Linked DNA regions of Homo sapiens: regions 1, 3, 4, 5, 6 and 7 are each linked to region 2. Evidence: promoter capture Hi-C in 16 types of primary human blood cells and fetal thymus (Javierre and others, 2016). All regions are on one chromosome and are shown on one strand. Each heading gives the region's core, a stretch centred on a gene start or on the middle of the fragment in contact. The rest is flanking DNA. Distances are from core to core; before and after follow the strand shown.

Region 1 (2,700 bases), core at 13-2,512, 200 kb after region 2:
GTTGTCCTTGCCATATTTTTATGATGGTGAGTGAACACAGTATACCTATGGGTGAGATTAGAATAAAATAGAGATTTTTATTTGTGTATTACATATTTAGCCAACATTTATTGTCTACTATATGCTATTCTATTTAAAATGTTTTCACTTTTCCTGCTTCTTATCTCCTTGTTTCCTTGTACAAAAAAAAAAAAAAAACCACCCCCAAACCTGCCCATGCTTCATAGTCCTGTTCAAACATCACCTCATTTTTAAAGTCTTGCTTGATTTTTTTTTTTCACATTTTTTTCACCATGGCACCTTTGAGGAAATAAAAATTTGCCTTGTGTTATAGCTTTAAGTCCCCTTCATCAGAGCTTAAGCAATCTTAGGAGAGATGCATGTTTGATTTCCTGAAACATAATCACTGGACTTCATGTTTGTGGCCAAAAAACAAAACAGAAAGACAATGTAATTCTCATTATAATGATCATATATACTAGTAACTACAGTTTGTTCAGCACATACCTGTAAGCCAGGCATTGTAAGAAGTGTTTATATTCATTATTTCATTCAATTCTTTTAACAGCATTATTTTATGGGTATAGAAACAAACTTGAGAAGTCAACTAACAAACTTGCTGCAGCGACTATTAAGTTGTGATTGAGGAAGTAGAACGAACTCAGATTTCTCTGACTCCAAAGTACATGTTCTTAAAATACAATGCTGTGCTACTACTATAGTTTCTCAGCTTCAAAGAGAACCACCAGAAGAGCCAATTCATCCCATCATTTTATTTCCTGGTTTTGTTTTTGTTAGGACCTTTGGAATGTATCTGTTAAATACAATTAAATTTGGAATGCAGTATTTAGAAAAATGTGTATTCACTAGATCTCTTACAAACTGGTCATAAACTAAGCCTTCTAAGAGTGAGGCTCATAAATTAGGATGTGTTCATTAGTTGTAGAAAAAATTGAACAGAGATTTGAAAGGGATTTATTCTTTCTACATAAAATAGATAAGCAGAGCAGACCAACTAAAAAACAGCTTTTTAAAATAATTTAATGGAAAGGGGTCTCAGATTATTGTGGAGAAAAGGTTGAGTGGATGAGAAAATCAAACATTTAAACTAAATGCAAAATAATTACCAACATTGAAGCAAAAAAGACAGATGTCATTCACAACAATGAATGATACAATAGTAAACTTCCTGCCTTTATGTGTGTTTCTTTCTTGTTAAATTCAAACTTTAGCTCTTTGCTATGTCAGAAAATTTTTGCTTTTACATGGCTTTGATGATTTAAATGAAGTGAATGAGCATGAACGAAAATAATTCTTAAGTGAATGAAAGTCTGAGGCTTTTGCAATAGAAAGTATATAATTAGCATTATTTTTGGTAATGAGCTTTATTTTGAAGCTGAAACCACTGCTAACAATGTTTAAAATTTTTTAATTTCCTTGTTTCTTTAAATGATTTATTTGGGATACTAACACAGAGTTAAATAACTTTGAATTCCATTGTAAGATTCTTTTAAAGTATTTTGTTTGAAAGTCTTTCATTTCTTCTAATTAGGTAGACAATCTCCATTTGCTGCTAAGGCAACTCTACCACTTCTCTTTTTTTTTTTCTTTTTTTAAGACAGGATCTTGCTTTGTTGTCCAGGCTGGAACATAGTGGCACAATCTCAGCTCACTGCAACCTCAGCCTCCTGAGTAGATGGGACTACAGGCGAGCACCACTACACTCAGCTAATGTAAAAAAAAAAAGTTTTAAGGCCGGGTGCAGTGGCTCATGCCTGTAATTCCAGCACTTTGGGAGGCCGAGGCGGGTGGATCACGAGGTCAGGAGATCGAGACCATCCTGGCTAACACAGTGAAACCCCATCTCTACTAGAAAAGTACAAAAAACAAAAAAATAGCCGGGCCTGGTGGCAGGCGCCTGTAGTCCAAGCTACGCAGGAGGCTGAAGCAGGAGAATGGCGTGAACCCGGGTGAACCCGGGAGTCAGAGCTTGCAGTTAGCCGAGATGCGCCACTGCACTCCAGCCTGGGCGACAGAGTGAGACTCCGTCTCAAAAAAAAAAAAAATTTTTTTTTTTTTTCCATAGGGACACAGTCTCACATTGCCCAGGCTGGTCTCAAATTCCTGAGCTCAAGTGATCCCGCTACCTCAACCTCCCAAAGTGCTGGGATTATAGATGTGAGCCACTGTGTCTGGTTTAATTCTTGAGTCTCTCCTCTAAAGGCCTCTGGCTCAGAATCTAAAGCAGGAAGTTTCTGTTCATGGCAAATGCTGCTGATTTTCCATTCTGTTCTAGTGGAGTTTTTCATATACTTTGGTTTCCATGTTTTTGATTCCACTTTGTTCCATAGAGATTTATCATTTTCATTTCCTGTTACTTGATTTCAGCAAAACATTGATGTGAGGAAAATATTAAATAGTACAGCTATGACAAACAATGCTGAGACTGGCTAGGGAATTTGGGAGCTAGCATGTTTGGGTATCTTTGGCTCCATCATCCCCTGTAGAATTCTGGGCACTCTGGTTGACTTCACCTTGGCCAGCATGATGGGGGCCTTCTTCATGGATCCGATTGAACTGGTTACCATGGGTGTTCCAGACTTCCCAGGTATTGCAGGTAACAGCTACATTCTTCTACAAAATGAAGAAATGCAGGCAGCCACATTCCAGAAGTCCTTGTGCTGGCCTCCAACTGCTAAT
Region 2 (2,700 bases), core at 65-2,564:
CTAAATACACCTTAACAACTATTCACATAGCATTTGCATTGTATTAGGTTTTATAAGTAATCTAGATATGATTTAAAGTATATGGGGAAACACACCATTTTTATGTAAGAGACTTGAACATCTTAGAAAATCCAGAGTCTGGGAACCAATCCCACGGATATAGAGACAACTGTACTAACTACAGTAATGGCATATGGTAGCTGAATCTACCTCTCTTTCCATCCCAGTCCGGAATCCAAAGGCTCCTTCTTGCCATGTTGTCCTCGGGCGTTGGCTGCTTCCTCCCATTTGTTACTTTGGAAGTGTCTTCTTTCCTCAGTGTTTCTTCTGCGTGGGCCTTACCGGTCTTTACTGCACTCACTTACCTAAGAGGCAAAACAATGGCTGCCATTCAAGAAAATCTCACTTCAGCCCAGAATCGAAGAACTGGGGCTTATTTTGTCTTCTTTCTACTCTGGGGCTTCTCTGAGGCCAAGTTCAGAACTTGTGCACAAGACAGTGGCTGTGTGACAGAGCCACCCAGGGCTGTCTCCGTTAGATGAAGAGACTGGCTTGATCCATTCCCAAGAACTAGTCCCACGTGCAGTTCGGTTGCTCCGAATGGGATTTGGGTGCGAGGGGCTGACTGGAGATGTGGGGTCTGGGTGAGTGGGGTATTTGAGAACCTGAAGCTCACAAGGCTTTGTCTGGTTTGAGGTACGTTTTGCCCTTTCTCCCGCATTCGGCTCTGCATCGAATCTGACCGGCCGCGCCTACTCTCGGAACGGCCGAGGAGGATGGGTCTCCCGTCTCCACACGCGCGGTGTCTGCGCCGACTGCAGCCCTCCTGGACGGGAGCCTCTGGGCCCAGCTTAGGGTGGCGTCCAGCGTGACCTACTCGGGAATGGCAGCCTTCAGTGTCCTGCGGCCTCGGGTTCCGGGAAGCTCGGGGACCTGGGCAGCGGATCCAGATGCTTCCACAGCTGTGTCTCCGTCGCTCCGCTTCGGGGGCCGAGAACCAGCAAGACCAACGCGAGGAGGCGCCACGGTACCTGCCACCCCGCTCCCAGGAGGCCCGGACGAGGCTTCGTCGGCGAGCGGTCGGGGCCTGCTTCTCGAGGTGCCTGCGAGCGCCTCATGCCCCTCCCCACCGGCCCCAACTCCGTCCCGCCTCACCCGACCGCGGGCTTTGTCCACCCGCCGCGGTGCGGCTCCTCCCAGTCCCCGACAGCTCCTCCCCGCCCCCTCTGCCGGCCCCACTTCCTAGGCGGCGGAGCGGGTCGGGGAGGGAAGGGTTAACCCGCGGCTCTTCCCGGCGCGGAGGGATCCGGAGGCGAGCCGAGCGCGGTGGTGAGGCCGCCTCAGCGAAAAAAATGTCCGCCTGAAGAGACCCACAAGTTCTATTCGGGGGGACCGACAGCCCGCCCCGGGAGGAAGGGGCGGCCAGGCCCGAAAGCCGCCTCCCCCTCCCAGACCCGAGAGCTCGTGCGGGGCAAAGTGAACCGAGCCGCTGGGCGGTGCAAGGGGAAGCCCAAGCCCGTTCTCCCGGCCAAAGTGAACTTTAATCGGGGTGGTTGGATGCGGAGACGGGGCGGCAGGTAATTGCGGGCTAGCGAGCGGGAGTGGGGCGGCGCGGCGGGGCTGGGGGCTGCGGGGCGCCGCCGCGTCCCTGCCGGAGTGGGGGCGCCCCCGTCCCCCGCCTCAACTCCGCGCCCCTTTGTACAGCGCGAAACCCGGGGTCCCCTCCAAGTTGGGGAGCGGAGTGGGGGCGGAGGCTCGAGTCGCGGGCGCTCAGGCCCGCTGGCGGCGCGCTCGGCCTGTGCGCCCCGTTCGGTGCCCGACTCGGGCCGGCGCCCAGGCTCCGGGGCGCGCGGGAGATCGGGCGGCTTCGGCCGCGGAGCCAGGCTCATTGTTCGGCAGGTCCGGGGCAGGGCAGCAAAAGTGGGAGGAGGCCGAGCCTGGGGAGGAGGACGCCGGCCGAGAGCGAGACTAGTTGTCGGGGTTTCTGTTTTCTGTTTAAAAACGCCCCTTGGATGAGCTGGGGGTGCTTTCCGACCTCCTGGGCCCGCCGGGGACGTCCGGGCGGCGGCGGCCGCAGACGCGGGCCTGCGAGCGGCGCGTTCCCTGCAACTTGTCAGTTCTATTGTTGCCGAGCGAGTGAGTCACTTCGCATCTCCGCTCGCCGCCGCTCCGCTCGCTGGACGCCGAATTGCCCCTCACCCCGCTCCTCGAGACCCCAGCCGCGGCCGGGCCCGGCGCGCGGAGCACCCGGCGGCGGCGCGGAGCAGGGGGCGCCGAGGAGGTGGCAGAGACTGGCTCGGAAACTTGGGGGAGAGGCGGCGAGTTGCGGGAGCCGCCGCGTCGATCTCGGGCCGCGGCGAGGAACGCGTGGATTCCGGGACCCGGCGCGGGCACTGAGCCCTCCCGCCCCTTGCTCGCGCCGCGGTGGGAGCGAGTCGGGGTCCTGGAAGTCATCCCGGCGCCCCCAGCGCTCTTGCGTAATCTTCCCCAGTACCTCTCTCTGTTCCCTCACACACTTTGGGCCTCGGTGGTCTCTCGCTGAGCCCGTTTCCTCTGCCCTAGGACCTGCTAGAAGTGGCCGAAGATGAATCCCCAGCAACAACGCATGGCCGCTATAGGGACCGACAAGGAGCTGAGCGACCTACTGGACTTCAGTGCGGTATGAGAGCTTTCCATGGCATCTTGGGGTTCTGCTGAGGT
Region 3 (2,700 bases), core at 54-2,553, 220 kb after region 2:
TCCTTAAGCCAGTTCTCTCCTTGGTAGAGAACAAAGACAGGCAAAAGAGAAGAATTTCCAGTTTTTCCATTTTACTTTTACTTGTTAATATCACTGATGGCTAAATATTTCATGAAATTATACTTTGATGCTCATGTCTAAAATGACACTTCAGCGTTAACTAAAGATTTCTGTTTTTCATGTTTTTTCATTTAACACTGCTTCTCTACAGCTGAGCCTGGGTTTCAGTGTTTAAATCGGATCTTGGAAGAAGCTTTCTGTAAGCTTGGAATGTGCCTTATCTTAAAGCCTTCTTCTCTTACCCTGTTAACCATTCCTGGCTTAAAACCTTCAGAAGTCATGGGATGTGGGTTTGCCTGGGGAGTCTGCTGCCTCCAGTGGAAATTTAGGCAACTGCTATGGCTATTCCAGACAAGTACTTCACAGATAATCAGATCTGTTTCCTATCTAACCGAAAGGAAAAGTGTAAAGCTTAGAGGGGTAATTCATATATTCCACTTTATAAACCATTCTAACAGCCAGTTGTAGGAACAGGGCAGCTGTTTGTTTTTAAAATCACTTATTCTCAAAAGAGTTCATTTGGAGACAGTTAAAATAAGGCAATAGGCAGAAAGTGGTAGAGCTAGAAGAGGCCTAACTATGTTTATTGGGGTTCATAGATAAAAAGCAAATGACCAGGTATTTTCATTATAAGCCATTATGTAGTCATTTCTTTTTTAAGCGCGTGCTACCAATTGATGTTTTCAGTTATGAAGAGTTTTGCTGTTACTAAATGATCAAAATTTTAGGTTTAGAATATTGTAACTAATATTTCTGAAATTGAGAAAAATTTAAGTAAGTGAATATATGATTAAATTAACCAGTAGCTGAGATCATTTACCTATTTCAGTTGAGAACTTGAGCTAAAATTAAGCTTTATACATAATCCCAGTTCCAGAAAGGACCTTGAGAGGTCCTCTAGATAAGATCATATTTAGACTGTCCCAAACACATTAGCCTATAATTTAGACAAAATTAATCTCAGTCAGTCTCAGTCTGTTTTTCTCTCTCCCTTCTCACCTCTCCTTGACTTCTCTTTTTCTAGTTACTCTTCCTTCTCCAATATCCTTTCCTCTTGCTCTCGTAATCTCTGTCCCCTTACTTTCCTCTGCTCTAAAATTTCTTACTCATGTGTACCACAAGAATGATGGTCTTTTATAATCCGTTTTATGGCTATTAATTACATACACTAAATTTTCAAAGCAAAGACCTAATGTTCTATTGTATAGATGTTTCAGAAATCATCATACATATAACTAGATTTCAGCTGCATGTTGGTATCCATCCCTAAACAGTTTAAGGGTGTTAGCGGTGATTATGATAATTGGGAGCAGAAGACAGATTCTCTTGACTAGGCAAACTTTAGTGAATCTTAGTCCTTTTCCCTGGAAAAATTAATAGTATCACTCATTACATAGGGCTTTGCTCCTGCATAACTAAACCACCAGGGAGATCTTCCAGGTTCCTAGCCATCACCTTTATTTGCAAACACTAAAAAATCTCTAATGTTTACTTCTTTAAACCAAAAAAAAAAAGTTAGAGCATTATAGCTGTGGCCTGCATTCATAGAAAAAGTATGCTTGCACTAATGTTTAGGGGCTAGGAATATTAAAGCATTTGCTATGACACTCAAGAAAAAAGTAATAGTACCAAAAAAGCTTTATAGATGTTTTCATTCTTTAATTTCCATAATCTCCCTATAGAAGATCTGGAAATTACAGTAAGCCAGAAAAAGAGACAGTAAACTTCATTCACTCACAGTCCTATCATTCAGTCATTATCAGTATTAACATTTGGAGTATAGTAGATGCCGTCTTTCCCACAGAAATCGGACAGGCACTTTGCCATTTAATTAAAAACAGTTTATTCCTCAAAAAATCAACATAATTACCATATGATCCAGCAGTATTACTTCCAGGTACATACCCAAAAGAATTGAAAGCAAGATCTGAAAGAGACATTTGTACACCTATGTTCATATCAGCATTATTCCCAGTTAACCAAAGGATGGAAGTAACCAAGTGTGTGTTGATGAATGAATGGATGAACAAAATGTGGTATATGCATACAACAGAATATTATTGAGCCTTAAAAAGAAAGGAAATTCTGACACATGCTATAACATGGATGGATCTTGATAATGTTTTAATTGAATGAGTATGCTAAGTGAAATAAGCCAGTCATAAAAAGACAAATACTGTATAATTCCATTTCTGTGAAGTACCTAGAGTAGTCAGATTCATAAAGACAGATTATCGGGATCAGGAGGAACCTTAAAAGGTTCATCATCCAACAACCCTTGAGTATTTTAATCTCCTTTTATTCAACAAATATTTATAGATCATGTGCTAAGTGTCAGACGTTATGCTAAGGACTGTGGAAACAAAGGAAACAAGTTTGATAAGGTTCCTGCATTCATAGATCTAAGGCCTAATAGTAAAGCCTTCCATCACTTAGGGCTTGCTGATTACAAAGTGCCGTGTAATTATTGCAGATAGCCTTTATTTAACTATTTATTTGGGACACATAGTGGGCTAAGCCTTTGTGTATATTTATGCATTAAATTCAAATTCTATGAGATATAAACAAAATTATTTTATTTTATATTTGAGGAAACTGATGCTGAGATAATTGGTTTGCACAGGATTGAACAATTTACAT
Region 4 (2,700 bases), core at 2-2,501, 180 kb before region 2:
AATGATAGAGTGGACTTTGGGGACTCCGGGGAGAGCGTGAGAGGGGAGTGAGGAATAAAAGACTATACATTGGGTAGAGTGTATACTGCTCGGGTGATGGGTGCTCCATAATCTCAGAAATCACCACTAAAGAACGTATTCATGTAACGAGACACCACCTGTTCTCCAAAAACCTATGAAAATAAAAAGTAAAAATAATAAAATGATGGCATCCTATTATTTTTATTTATAACAGGATGAAAGAGAAGATTGCACTCTGTATTCTAGAGTCTAGTCCTCACTTTGTAGAGACAAAAGCTCAATGTTGCCAGTCTCCAGAACTAATTTGAATCCTGGGGGATGATTCATACCAACCAAACTTACTGAGACACATGTGTAAGCCAAAATTGCAATTATTTTTTGTTGTTGTTCATGAAAAACACAACTGCCATGGAGACCAAAAAGCTGGTTAATGTATTTTCATTCAAAGGAACATTTACGTGAGAGGCCAAATTACAAAAGATGACTCATGAGAATAGAATCAGCACACAGGAAGTTATTTGGATGATTCTGACATCGTCCTTCAAACTTCTGACATCATACGCCCTTGGCCTCTAGAACGCCGTTCTTTTGGTTCTCCTGACTTACGGTCTGAGCTTTCCCACCATTTTTTATGAGCTTCTCTGACTTACATTCTCAGCCTGTTCTACATGTTACACACTTGCTATAGATATCCTCACAGTACTCATTCTCCTTAAGTGAGATTATGCTCCACATCCTTACCTGAATTATTGCAGTGAATATGGGTGATCTCCCAGCTTTCATTCCACAATTACTTTGTGTTCATCCATGCAATTTGGACAGACGTAATACACCGCACAGCAGGTCCAAGAATTGTCCAACTGGCCAAAAGTTATCAGAGTTACCCTCACCCTTTGAACTAGTTTTTGTTTCAGAGGCCAATCAGAGGGAAGCCTAGGATTTTTGTTTTATTGCAGAGAATACAGAAGTTCTTTTTTTTCTCTGAATGGTATGGCATTCAAATGTAAATACTGGAAGAGCTACATTCTCCCTCTTTTTTTTTTCTTTGCTACTAAGTAGAGCCAACTGAAAATAAAGCCAACACGTGAAGGAGGAATAGCTGGGAGAATCAATCATAGGGAAAGGAAGCCAATCCCTGAGAGAATCATAAACCTTCAAATAAAACATCACCGGAACCCATACTGCCTCTAGACTTTTCTGGTTTATGAGCTAATAAATCACCTTTGTTGTTTAAGCTGAAGGGATCCAGAATAAGCCATTGTGGCATAAAAATTATTTTGAGCTGAATATGTTTATGTTCCTGAAATCCCTTATCTACCTAAAAGCAGAGCCTTTCAAAAGAACCCAAAAGAACTCAATTGTTATAAATTCCCTCCAGGGAGCAACCAAGGAAGATTGAGTCACCGTCAGAGACTATGAGAATGTCACCACATCTAAACAGACATTGTCAAAACAACTATGATATCTCCCATCTATTCTCCAAAGGGCCCATTTATCTTTCCCAAAAGTCATTTCCGTAAGTTCCCTTTCTGCTCCTTCCCCTTCTAAGAAGTCATTTGTTTTCCCATAAGTGCTTTTCTCCCCCTCCCCTTCAGGGAAGTATATCAGTCTCTAAGCCCCAAATTCTAACCACCCTCTGGAGTCAACACTTCCTTGTGATCTCCTTACGTACATATGTGATTAAAATCTGTCTTCTCTTGTCCTTTGTCAGTTTATTCACAGGCCCCCAATTATAGAACCTCAAAAAGTAGAAGAAAAGTTTTTCCTCCCCCACAAGGCCAATTTGAGTTGAATTTTCTCTTACCTGCAACTGAAATCATCGTTAAGTGTGACAGAGATAATGATACATATTCACCATCTTATTTTCCTCTTTGCACCCAGGAAACCTATGTTTCCCAGCTTCCTTACCTTTTATATTGGGCTGTGTAACTAATTCTGGACAGTGGAATGTAAACAGAAGCAGTGACCCTCCCATGCAAGCCTGACCTTAAAACTTCCAGTAATTTATAGTTCCTATTTGTTTTTCACACACCAGTCAGCTAGATACAGAAAACTCTGAGAAGCTGGGGGATGGCAGCAACATTATATAGAAGGACTCTGGGTTTCTTAAAAATTGCATCAACACACTGATCCTCACTGGACTGATTGGAGCAAAAAATAAACCTTTATTGGGTTAAGACCCTGAGATTTGAGGGTGGTTTGTTGCAATAGCTCAAATCACTAACTCTGATTAATAATAGTGATGGCCTACAATGATAAAAACTAAAATGTGTGTCATTAGCTTAGCACAGCAATCAGGTGGGAATCGAGGAAATAGATGTAGGAGGGTGGACAGCTGAAGGTTCACTTTAGGCAGTGGCTAAACTCTTGCTTACAATATCTCACAAGGCAGATTAGTATCTACATAACTTGTAGAGCTAAGGGAAGAGTTCAGAAAGCAATATTAATGGTAGAGGTTGGTGATTTTTGATATTTTTAGCAAGATGTTATCAGAAGGAGATTAGCATAGAACAGAATTAACCAGTTTATTGTTGGGGGCGAAGGAAATTTTTCACATCTGAAGGTTTGAGTCTGCTGAAATTACCAACAACAGAGAGAATAACAGGAGAAAAGGCATACAAAGGTATTCACATGGTACTGTGCACAGGAGTCATACAAAACATAAGACTCAAAGAAGGG
Region 5 (2,700 bases), core at 54-2,553, 250 kb after region 2:
TCCAAGGAAATATAAATAGTGACTCCAAAATTATACCCAAACACCACATTAAAACCATTTTTCTTCAACAGAATTCCCCAAGGAGCATTAACTCTGCTATTAATGTACATAAAATGCTGCTGACATACTGCAAAATTCAGACTAATTTAATAATGCCTGATGGGCCTTACTTCATGTTAAGATGATGTAATAATATGTTGCTAAATGAGTGTCATCATATTACATTCACAACAATCACATTAACTGATGAGCCATTAAAAGGAAACTCATGTGGCAGTATTACTGGAAACACTGATAGATCATTCTGCAGTTAAATTTTTTTATTGATGAAACACAGAGCATAGAAGCCAGTGTCTTTATTAATAATAGGTATATCACTTTAAAAACTACCACAGTTAAGTGAAAAATCCTTTTATCAGTATAACAAAGTTTTTCATTTATACCTCTTAAGCAAGTATTTATTCACATAGTTTCATAAGTTTTTCTCTAAGTGTTTAAATGTAGAAGGTGGCAGGGTCTTGGTTTTTTTCAGAAAGTGTGAAGTTCATCTGAGTTCAGATATTATACCCTTGAAAAAATGACAGCTTTAAAAACTGTACCTTACTTAACTCTTAGTTGTTTGGAGATAAGCTTATACCATTTGGTTTTTCCTTGTTCTTTTTTCCTGTTATACCCAATCTCATATGCAGACATTTATAATAATAAAATAATAAAAGAGTTGATGTATCAGAAAGACATAACAATGACAGATGTGTATACGCCTAATAAGAAAGCTTCAAAACGAAGCAAAACAAAAATTGATAGAATTAAAGAGAGAGATAAACAAATTGACAATCATGCTTGGAAAATTGAATACTTCTGTCTTAGCAGTTTGCAGAATAACTAGACAAAAAACTTAGTAAAGATGTAGAACAAAATTAACTATCGACAACCTTGACCTAAATGATATGTATAGAACTCTGCATACAACAACTGAAGAACATAAATTCCTTTCAGGGGCACACATTACACTAACAGGCTGGAATCATACGCTGGTCCATAAAACTAGTGTCAGTAAATTGGAAAGGTTTGAAACCATACAGAGTATGTTCTCTGGACACAAAAGACTTAAATAAAAACTCTGATGAGAACTCAGGGACACAAAGAAGGCACCTGTAGACACGGGGGCCTCCTTGAAGGTAGAGGGTGGGAGGAGGGAGAGGATCAGAAAAAATAGCTATTGGGTGCTAGGCTTACTTCTTGGGTGATGAAATAACGTGTACAAACCTCCCCGACACGAGTTTACCTATATAACAAAGCTGAACATGTGCCTCTGAATCTAAAATACAAGTTTAGTAAAAAGCAAAGTTGTATTAGAAGTCAGTAAGACTAGGTGTGGTGACTCATGCCTGTAACCCCAGCCCTTTGGAAGGCCGATTCAGGAGGATCACTTGAGCCCAGGAGTTCAAGACCAGACTGAGCAGCATAGTTAGACTCTGTCTCTATTAAAATTAAAAAAAAAAAAAAGAAAACTAGTCAGGTGTGGTGGCAGGAGGCTGAGGCGGGAGGATTGCTTGAGCCCAGGAGTTCGAGGCTGCAGTGCGCTGTTATTGCACTGCTGCACTCCAGCCTGGGCAACAGAGCAAGACTCTGTCTCAAAAACCAATGTCAGTAAGATATCTAGAAAAACACCAGATGTTCAGAAGTTAAGCAACATGTTTAAATGACCCATTGTTTTAAAAAGAAACCACAGGAAATTCAGAAGATATTTCTAACTGAATAATAATGAAAATGTGATATAACAAAATGTGTTGGTGCATCTAAACCAGTGCCTTGAAGGAAAGTATACTTTTGAAAGCTTGTATTAGAAAAGATGTACAGTGAATGACCAAGATTCTGCCCTAAGAACTTAGCTAGAAAAAGAAACACAAAGTAAACCCAAAATAAATAGAAAGAAGGAAATACTACAAATAAGAGCAGAAATCAATGTAATAGAAAAAACTAACAAAACCAAAATTTGGCTATTTGAAATAAATCATAAAGTTAACCCCTAGCTAGACCAGTTAACACAAGGGGAAGGAGAAGAGAACAAGAACACAAATTACCAGAATCTGGAATGAAAGAGAGGTTACTGCTATGAATCATATATACATTAAGAATATAATAAATATTATAACTTAGTAAATTTGACAACTTAGATTAAATAAATGAATTCCTTGAAAAATACTTACCAAGAGGAGACAAATTGAAACAAAATCTGAATCCATGTATATCTTTTTTTCTTTTTTTTTTTTTAGACAGAGTCTCACTCTGTTACCCATGCTGGAGTGAAGTGGTGCTATCTCGGCTCACTACATCCTCCGCCTCCCAGGTTCGAGTGATTCTCCTGCCTTAGCCTCCTGAGTAGCTGGGACTACAGGTGCCCGCCACCACGCCTGGCTAATTTTTGTATTTTTAGTAGAGATGGGGTTTCACCATATTGGCCAGGCGGGTCTCAAACCCCTGACCTTGTGATCCCCCCGCCTCAGCCTCTCAAAGTGCTGGAATTACAGGCGTGAGCCACTGCACCCGGCCTGTATATCTATTAATGAAAGTTAATTCATATCAAAAACCTTCCCACAAAGAAAGCATAAGGGTCATATGGCTTCTTTCAAAATGATTAATTCTTTCAAATGCTTAGGAAAAAAATAATACCAATTTTATACAAGTTAGTTTAGAAAA
Region 6 (2,700 bases), core at 196-2,695, 240 kb before region 2:
GAAACAGTGATCTATTCCAAGAATAAATAAATATCTGTATTAAATTTTTTATAAGTATACTATATTGTTTGGGAGACTTGAGAGATTTACAGGTAATTCTTACTATATGTAATTTCTACCTTTAGACCCAATGCCAATGTGAAATCCAACTCTGGTAGAGCAGTAAAAGCTTGGATGCTAAGTCAAATTTTGACTCTGCCTTTATTAGACAATGTGACATTAGGCAAGTTACTTTCTCTAAAGCTCTGTTTCCTCATCTATAAAACTGAAATAATAATATACATCTAGTGGTTGAGAGGATTAAACAAGAAAATGCATGTAAAGTACCAGCTGCTGCCATAAGGTAAGTAATTAGTGTATGTTAACTGCTTGTTTTATTAAAGCTCTAATGAGCATATTTAACACATCTGGAATTTCTATCAATATTTCTTAAAAGTCACACAAACTGGGTTATTAACTCTAAAATCACTAAAGACATAATAATATAATCTTTAAAAAAAGTTACAACTGAGTTCTTCAAAGACAATAAAATGAGGCATGGAGTCAACTATTCTGATTGTCTAATACTTTGGTAATAATGTTATCTCAACTACAAGTTTATAATCCCACTCAGCTATGGTTTTCCAGTCTTGTAAATCATTACACAAATTGTAAATACCTTCAAAGATGCCCAATGATCCTTACTAATAGACTGCCCCCTCTTTACTGCTGGCTATCTACCTCCCAGGCACTCCAAACAAAAAAGAAAATTGGCAGCCATGGCAAGTTAAAACATACAACTCAGGGCATGACAACTTGCTTATAAATCACACAGGCACATAGCAGGTCCCCAAATCTCTACCATAGTTACTATTCTTCCCACATCTCTATCTCACTCTATAGTTTGACAAAGCACCTGGGAAAGATTATGTTTAAAAACCCCATCGTGAACTAGAGCTACTGCTTTATACCTCATTCTCCCTTTCAAAATTAAAGTCCAAAGATGAAATACGGGGTATCAAGAATAGTGTTTCCCAAATTCTGTTCATAAAGAAATGCACTAAGGGTGATGAAGATACTTTTTTTTTTTTATAACACTATGTTCAACAAAACAAACAGTGATCTATTCCAAGAATAAATAAATATCTGTATTAAATTTTTTATAAGTATACTACATTGTTTGGGAGACTTGAGAGATTTACAGGTAATTCTTACTATATGTAATTTACTATATGTAATTGGGGAAACCTTAGAATAGATCTTGCCAGAAACTCTCAAGGATGTGTGGCATCCTAGTCACAACACATATGATCCCAAATTGATCTGGAAATTCTACTTTCATGATCTTCTCCAATTAAAAACAGCAAGTCAATTTCATGACTTAACTAACAACTGAAAATGACAGCAAAGTGAGCACCAATGCTGAATAAATTGGCATGTCAATTTAATCAATAATAAGAGAATGTATTGAGCTTTGTAGTGAGTTGACAAAATTTGATTACATGATCAGATTCGGTAAATCCATTGGTTTCTAATTTTGGCAAAGGCACTGTTGTTCTTTCAAGCACGCAAGAACAGGATTAGTATTGCATCAAAATTTTTAGCCCAAATAAAAGATGGTTTAATTGCTTCAGGAAAAGAGCCAATAAGCATAATATCAGAATTCAAGGGAGGGGTACAAGCACTAATATTGAGTTCCAAAATTATATAGCAAAACTGGTGGAAGCCATCCAGGGAACAAGTGATGATCTAAATATAGTTCTCTGCCAGAGTTCATATACTGATCAGTAAGTGTCATTACTATTCCCATGGTCACACAACTATAAAAGACAACTCCAGGTCAATGACAACATGTCTTCTCATAATGATAAGGGGTTAGAAAGTTGAAATAAAGTTTGAAGAGCAAAACGAAAAATAAGATTATAAATCCTCAGTCTTTTCTTCCTCAGTTCAAACTCATTATTCCCTTTGTCCTGATAACTCCCTTCAAAATCATTCTCATATCTACCTTTAGACCCTGAAATATTCAATCTTTTGGATATTCCACTCAACTTTTTCTTTTTCTGTCAATCCTCAGCTTCCTATTTCTAGCTATCTTTCAGAATTTTCATTATTTATGACCCACACCATCACCAGAAAGGAAGTAAGGAAAAGAAGTGGAATTTTCACAAGCAATTCAACTTGAAGTGTAAATTAATAGTGTCATTTGGAACAACTCTGCTTCTCTTGCAGAACAAATCTAAAGATTCTCCAAGTCATAATCAGTTTTTTCACTAAGACAACATAATAAACAAATAAGAACTGGTAAATCTCACCTGATGCTTCATATAATGATGCATATATGGTGTTGCAATTTTAATAACTTTGAGGCAAAACGGGCATAGCAAGTTCTTAGTGTTTTCATGGGATGTTCTAAAATGAGTTTCTACATCAGAAAATGATGATGATCTATAATTACAAACCTAAAAAAAGAAAGAAGGCTTAGTTTAACTTGAAAATTTAAAACTGATATGCAATTACAAAGGAACAATGATGGATAATTTGTCAGGAGAACATTATGTACTACTAATCTAGCTCTGATGCCTTTGCAACCAAGAATCTCACTAAGGCAACACCAAAAGACCATCTTTGAGACATTAAACGTAGCTTTCAAAGTTAAGGGATACATCCCAAAACAAAACTAGATCTCCTTCTCTTTATCAGATCTTTTTATCTATCACC
Region 7 (2,700 bases), core at 180-2,679, 210 kb before region 2:
ACATGCCCATATTTAATATACTGTTTGCATGGGGGAAAAATGAATTCCAAGTAACTGACTTAAAATAAATTCCATTCATTTATGGATACTGCCCACATAAATAATTATAATTCCTATTTTATAAATTTTTGGTTTCAGTTTTTATCTAAAATTAAACTGTATCTTATTTTTTCTATAAAAAAAATTAGAAATCAATGGAAATGTGGGTCTAAGTGTTTTAACTATCTGAAATTTTCACTTTCATCCATTGATAGATATCACCCGATGTACTGCTGCCGTGTTAAATAATATTAATACTGCATGTGATCAAGTACAGAGCACATACTATGGACACAGGTGTGCTATATACTAGATATAGTCCTCTTTACTTTCTGATAAGAAAAAAATTAAGCAATTTCACAAACTACAACTGTAGTATCTGCACATTTAAAAAAAGAATATCGCACTAGAAACCAGGAGAACCAAGTCATAGTACCAGCATGGCCACAACCTTCTGCCAAGTCATCTTCAATTCTAGCTCTCAGGCTTATAGTTCAACTGAAAGATTCTGGCTTAATTCAGCTCAAAATCTATTGTATACTTTAAACATTTAGTAACCATGAAGAGTAAAACATGGTGAAGAATGAATGCCAAATTCAAATTCTGACTCAATCACTTATTACCAATATGATGTTGGACAAGTTAGTTAACCTAGTGCCTTGCTTTACTGCTTTTTATACATACATTTACCATTTACATATACATAAAAAATAAAAATAGACTTATGTCATTGGATTATAGTGAAGATTAAATGAGATAATATATGTAAAACACATCTCAGTGCCTGGCACATGGAAACCACTCAACGATGTTTAACTATTTTTAACTCTGAGATAAATCCCATTTTAAAGAACTCGAGGCCAGGCATGGTGGCTCACACCTATAATTCCAGCACTTTGGGAGGCCGAGGCAGGTGGATCACTTGAGGTCAGGAGTTCAAGAACAGCCTGGCCAACATGGTGAAACCGGGACTCTACTAAAAATAAAAAAATTAGCCGGGCATGGTGGAGCATGCCTGTAATCCAAGCTACTCGGGAGGCTGAAGAAGAATGGCTTTAACCAGGAGGCAGAGGTTGCAGTAGTGAGCTGAGATCGTGCCACTGCACTCCAGTCTGGGTGACACAGCAAGACTCAGTCTCAAAAAAACAAAAAAAAGAACTGATCCCAATTCTGTTATACTGGAATTTACGTGCTATCAGCTAAGCATTTAGAAATCATTTTGTTTTATGGTCATGCATCACTTAACAACAGGGATAAGTTCTGACAAATGTATCATTAGATGATTTTGTAGTTGTGAGAACATCGTAGAGTCTACAGTACTTACACAAACCTAGATGGTATTGCCTACTACACATCCAAGCTATATGGTATAGCCTATTGCTCCTAGGCTATAAACCTGTATAGCATGTTACTGTACTGAATACCGCAGGCAATTATAACACAAATCACTAGGTAATAGGAATTTTTCAGTCCATTATAATCTTACAGGACCACCGTATTATATAATGCAGTCTGTCCTTGACCTAAACATCATTATGTGGTACATGACCTTCATTACAGTGAAATTTCTCATGATGAAATTTTAGCTTTATATCTTCCAGACTGTGGCTGTCAAATCTATCCTACCACATTTTCATCTTTTTAAAAAAGCATTTCTAAACTAATTAAAATATACACCAAAAAAAATTTTAACCCTCATATAAACATAACACACTGTTAAATTACATACTACTAATCTAATAGAATAAGTATCCAATTCAAAAGTACCAACATATAAAAATTAACATTTAGATAAGGTATCTTTACACCATTTCTATTAAGAAAAAAACGTTCAGGCTGGGCATAGTGGCTCATGCCTCTAATTCCAGCACTTTGGGAGGCCAAGGTTGGAGGATGACTTGAGCTCAGCCTGGGCAATATGGCAAAACCCCATCTCCACAAAAAATACAAGAAAATTACTGGGAGTGGTGGCACATGCCCCTGGTCCCAGCTATAAGAGGTTGAGGCTGCAGTGAGCCGAGACTGGGCCACTGCACTCCAGCCTGGGTGACAGTGTGAGACCCTCATACCAAAAAAAAAAAAAAAAAAAAAGGAAAGAAAGAAAAGAAAAAACACTCATTCTACATGTATCTTAGTATTTTATTTTCTAAAAAATAAATAAATAAATAGCTGGTAATTAAAACACAAAAGTGATTATGAGGAACATGGTGAATGGCTTTTTTTTTTTTTTTTCTGAGGTGGAGTCTTGCTCTGTTGCTCAGGCTGGAGAGCAGTGGCACCATCTCAGCTCACTGCAACCTCCACCTTCCAGGTTCAAGTGATTCTCCTGCCTCAGCCTCCCGAGTAGCTGGGATTATAGGTGCGCACCATCATGCCCAACTAATTTTGTATTTTTGGTAGAGATGGGGTTTCACCATGTTGGCCAGGCTGGTCTTGAACTCCTGAACTCAAGTGATCTGCCCGCCTTGGCCTCCCAAAGTGCTGGCATTACAGGTGTGAGCCACCATGCCCGGTCAAATGGTTAACTTCTACATCTCCCCCAATCCCATAAATTCAAGATATAAAATCAATGAAATAATCCAAAAAATCACATTATAAAGTTAATCTTTCTTTTTGTCTCCCCACCATACAAATGTTTTAATTGGGGATTGCATTACTAAC

The links. Contacts are between HindIII fragments. The CHiCAGO score rates a contact against its expected background, and 5 or more counts as called.
Region 1: a fragment that was not itself captured here is called in contact with the fragment with the promoter of TCF12 in region 2 in 2 of 17 cell types (M2 macrophages and total CD4 T cells); the score reaches 5.3 in M2 macrophages.
Region 3: a contact is called between a fragment that was not itself captured here and the fragment with the promoter of TCF12 in region 2, in 8 of 17 cell types (endothelial precursors, M0 macrophages, activated CD4 T cells and 5 more). The highest score is 10.3, in endothelial precursors.
Region 4: a fragment that was not itself captured here is called in contact with the fragment with the promoter of TCF12 in region 2 in 1 of 17 cell types (fetal thymus); the score reaches 6.3 in fetal thymus.
Region 5: a contact is called between a fragment that was not itself captured here and the fragment with the promoter of TCF12 in region 2, in 2 of 17 cell types (naive CD4 T cells and activated CD4 T cells). The highest score is 5.3, in naive CD4 T cells.
Region 6: a contact is called between a fragment that was not itself captured here and the fragment with the promoter of TCF12 in region 2, in 1 of 17 cell types (fetal thymus). The highest score is 7.3, in fetal thymus.
Region 7: a contact is called between a fragment that was not itself captured here and the fragment with the promoter of TCF12 in region 2, in 1 of 17 cell types (fetal thymus). The highest score is 9.7, in fetal thymus.

The regions. Positions count from the first base shown.
Region 1 is chr15:57,121,917-57,124,616 of GRCh38, forward strand. All of the region lies in intron 5 of TCF12 (transcription factor 12), which reads left to right. Among named protein-coding and RNA genes, the nearest start is that of SNORD13D, 160 kb to the right of the region's middle. The HindIII fragment of the contact is 3,911 bases long and covers 1-2,700 here.
Region 2 is chr15:56,917,330-56,920,029 of GRCh38, forward strand. TCF12 (transcription factor 12) reads left to right here and starts at 1,315. Exons shown (of 21, transcript NM_207037.2): 1 at 1,315-1,577; 2 at 2,563-2,659. The coding sequence starts at 2,585. TCF12-DT (TCF12 divergent transcript) reads right to left here and starts at 1,170. Exons shown (of 4, transcript NR_015419.2): 1 at 211-1,170. RefSeq lists silencers at 475-614, 1,135-1,264, 1,435-1,484, 1,575-1,864, 1,915-2,354. The HindIII fragment of the contact is 11,533 bases long and covers 1-2,700 here.
Region 3 is chr15:57,138,095-57,140,794 of GRCh38, forward strand. All of the region lies in intron 5 of TCF12 (transcription factor 12), which reads left to right. Among named protein-coding and RNA genes, the nearest start is that of SNORD13D, 140 kb to the right of the region's middle. The HindIII fragment of the contact is 784 bases long and covers 912-1,695 here.
Region 4 is chr15:56,735,998-56,738,697 of GRCh38, forward strand. No RefSeq gene overlaps it. Among named protein-coding and RNA genes, the nearest start is that of ZNF280D, 3.8 kb to the left of the region's middle. The HindIII fragment of the contact is 5,857 bases long and covers 1-2,700 here.
Region 5 is chr15:57,171,453-57,174,152 of GRCh38, forward strand. All of the region lies in intron 6 of TCF12 (transcription factor 12), which reads left to right. Among named protein-coding and RNA genes, the nearest start is that of SNORD13D, 110 kb to the right of the region's middle. The HindIII fragment of the contact is 1,064 bases long and covers 772-1,835 here.
Region 6 is chr15:56,674,376-56,677,075 of GRCh38, forward strand. It overlaps ZNF280D (zinc finger protein 280D), which reads right to left. Exons shown (of 22, transcript NM_017661.4): 13 at 2,295-2,441. Among named protein-coding and RNA genes, the nearest start is that of ZNF280D, 58 kb to the right of the region's middle. The HindIII fragment of the contact is 2,556 bases long and covers 168-2,700 here.
Region 7 is chr15:56,710,486-56,713,185 of GRCh38, forward strand. All of the region lies in intron 1 of ZNF280D (zinc finger protein 280D), which reads right to left. Among named protein-coding and RNA genes, the nearest start is that of ZNF280D, 22 kb to the right of the region's middle. The HindIII fragment of the contact is 7,498 bases long and covers 1-2,700 here.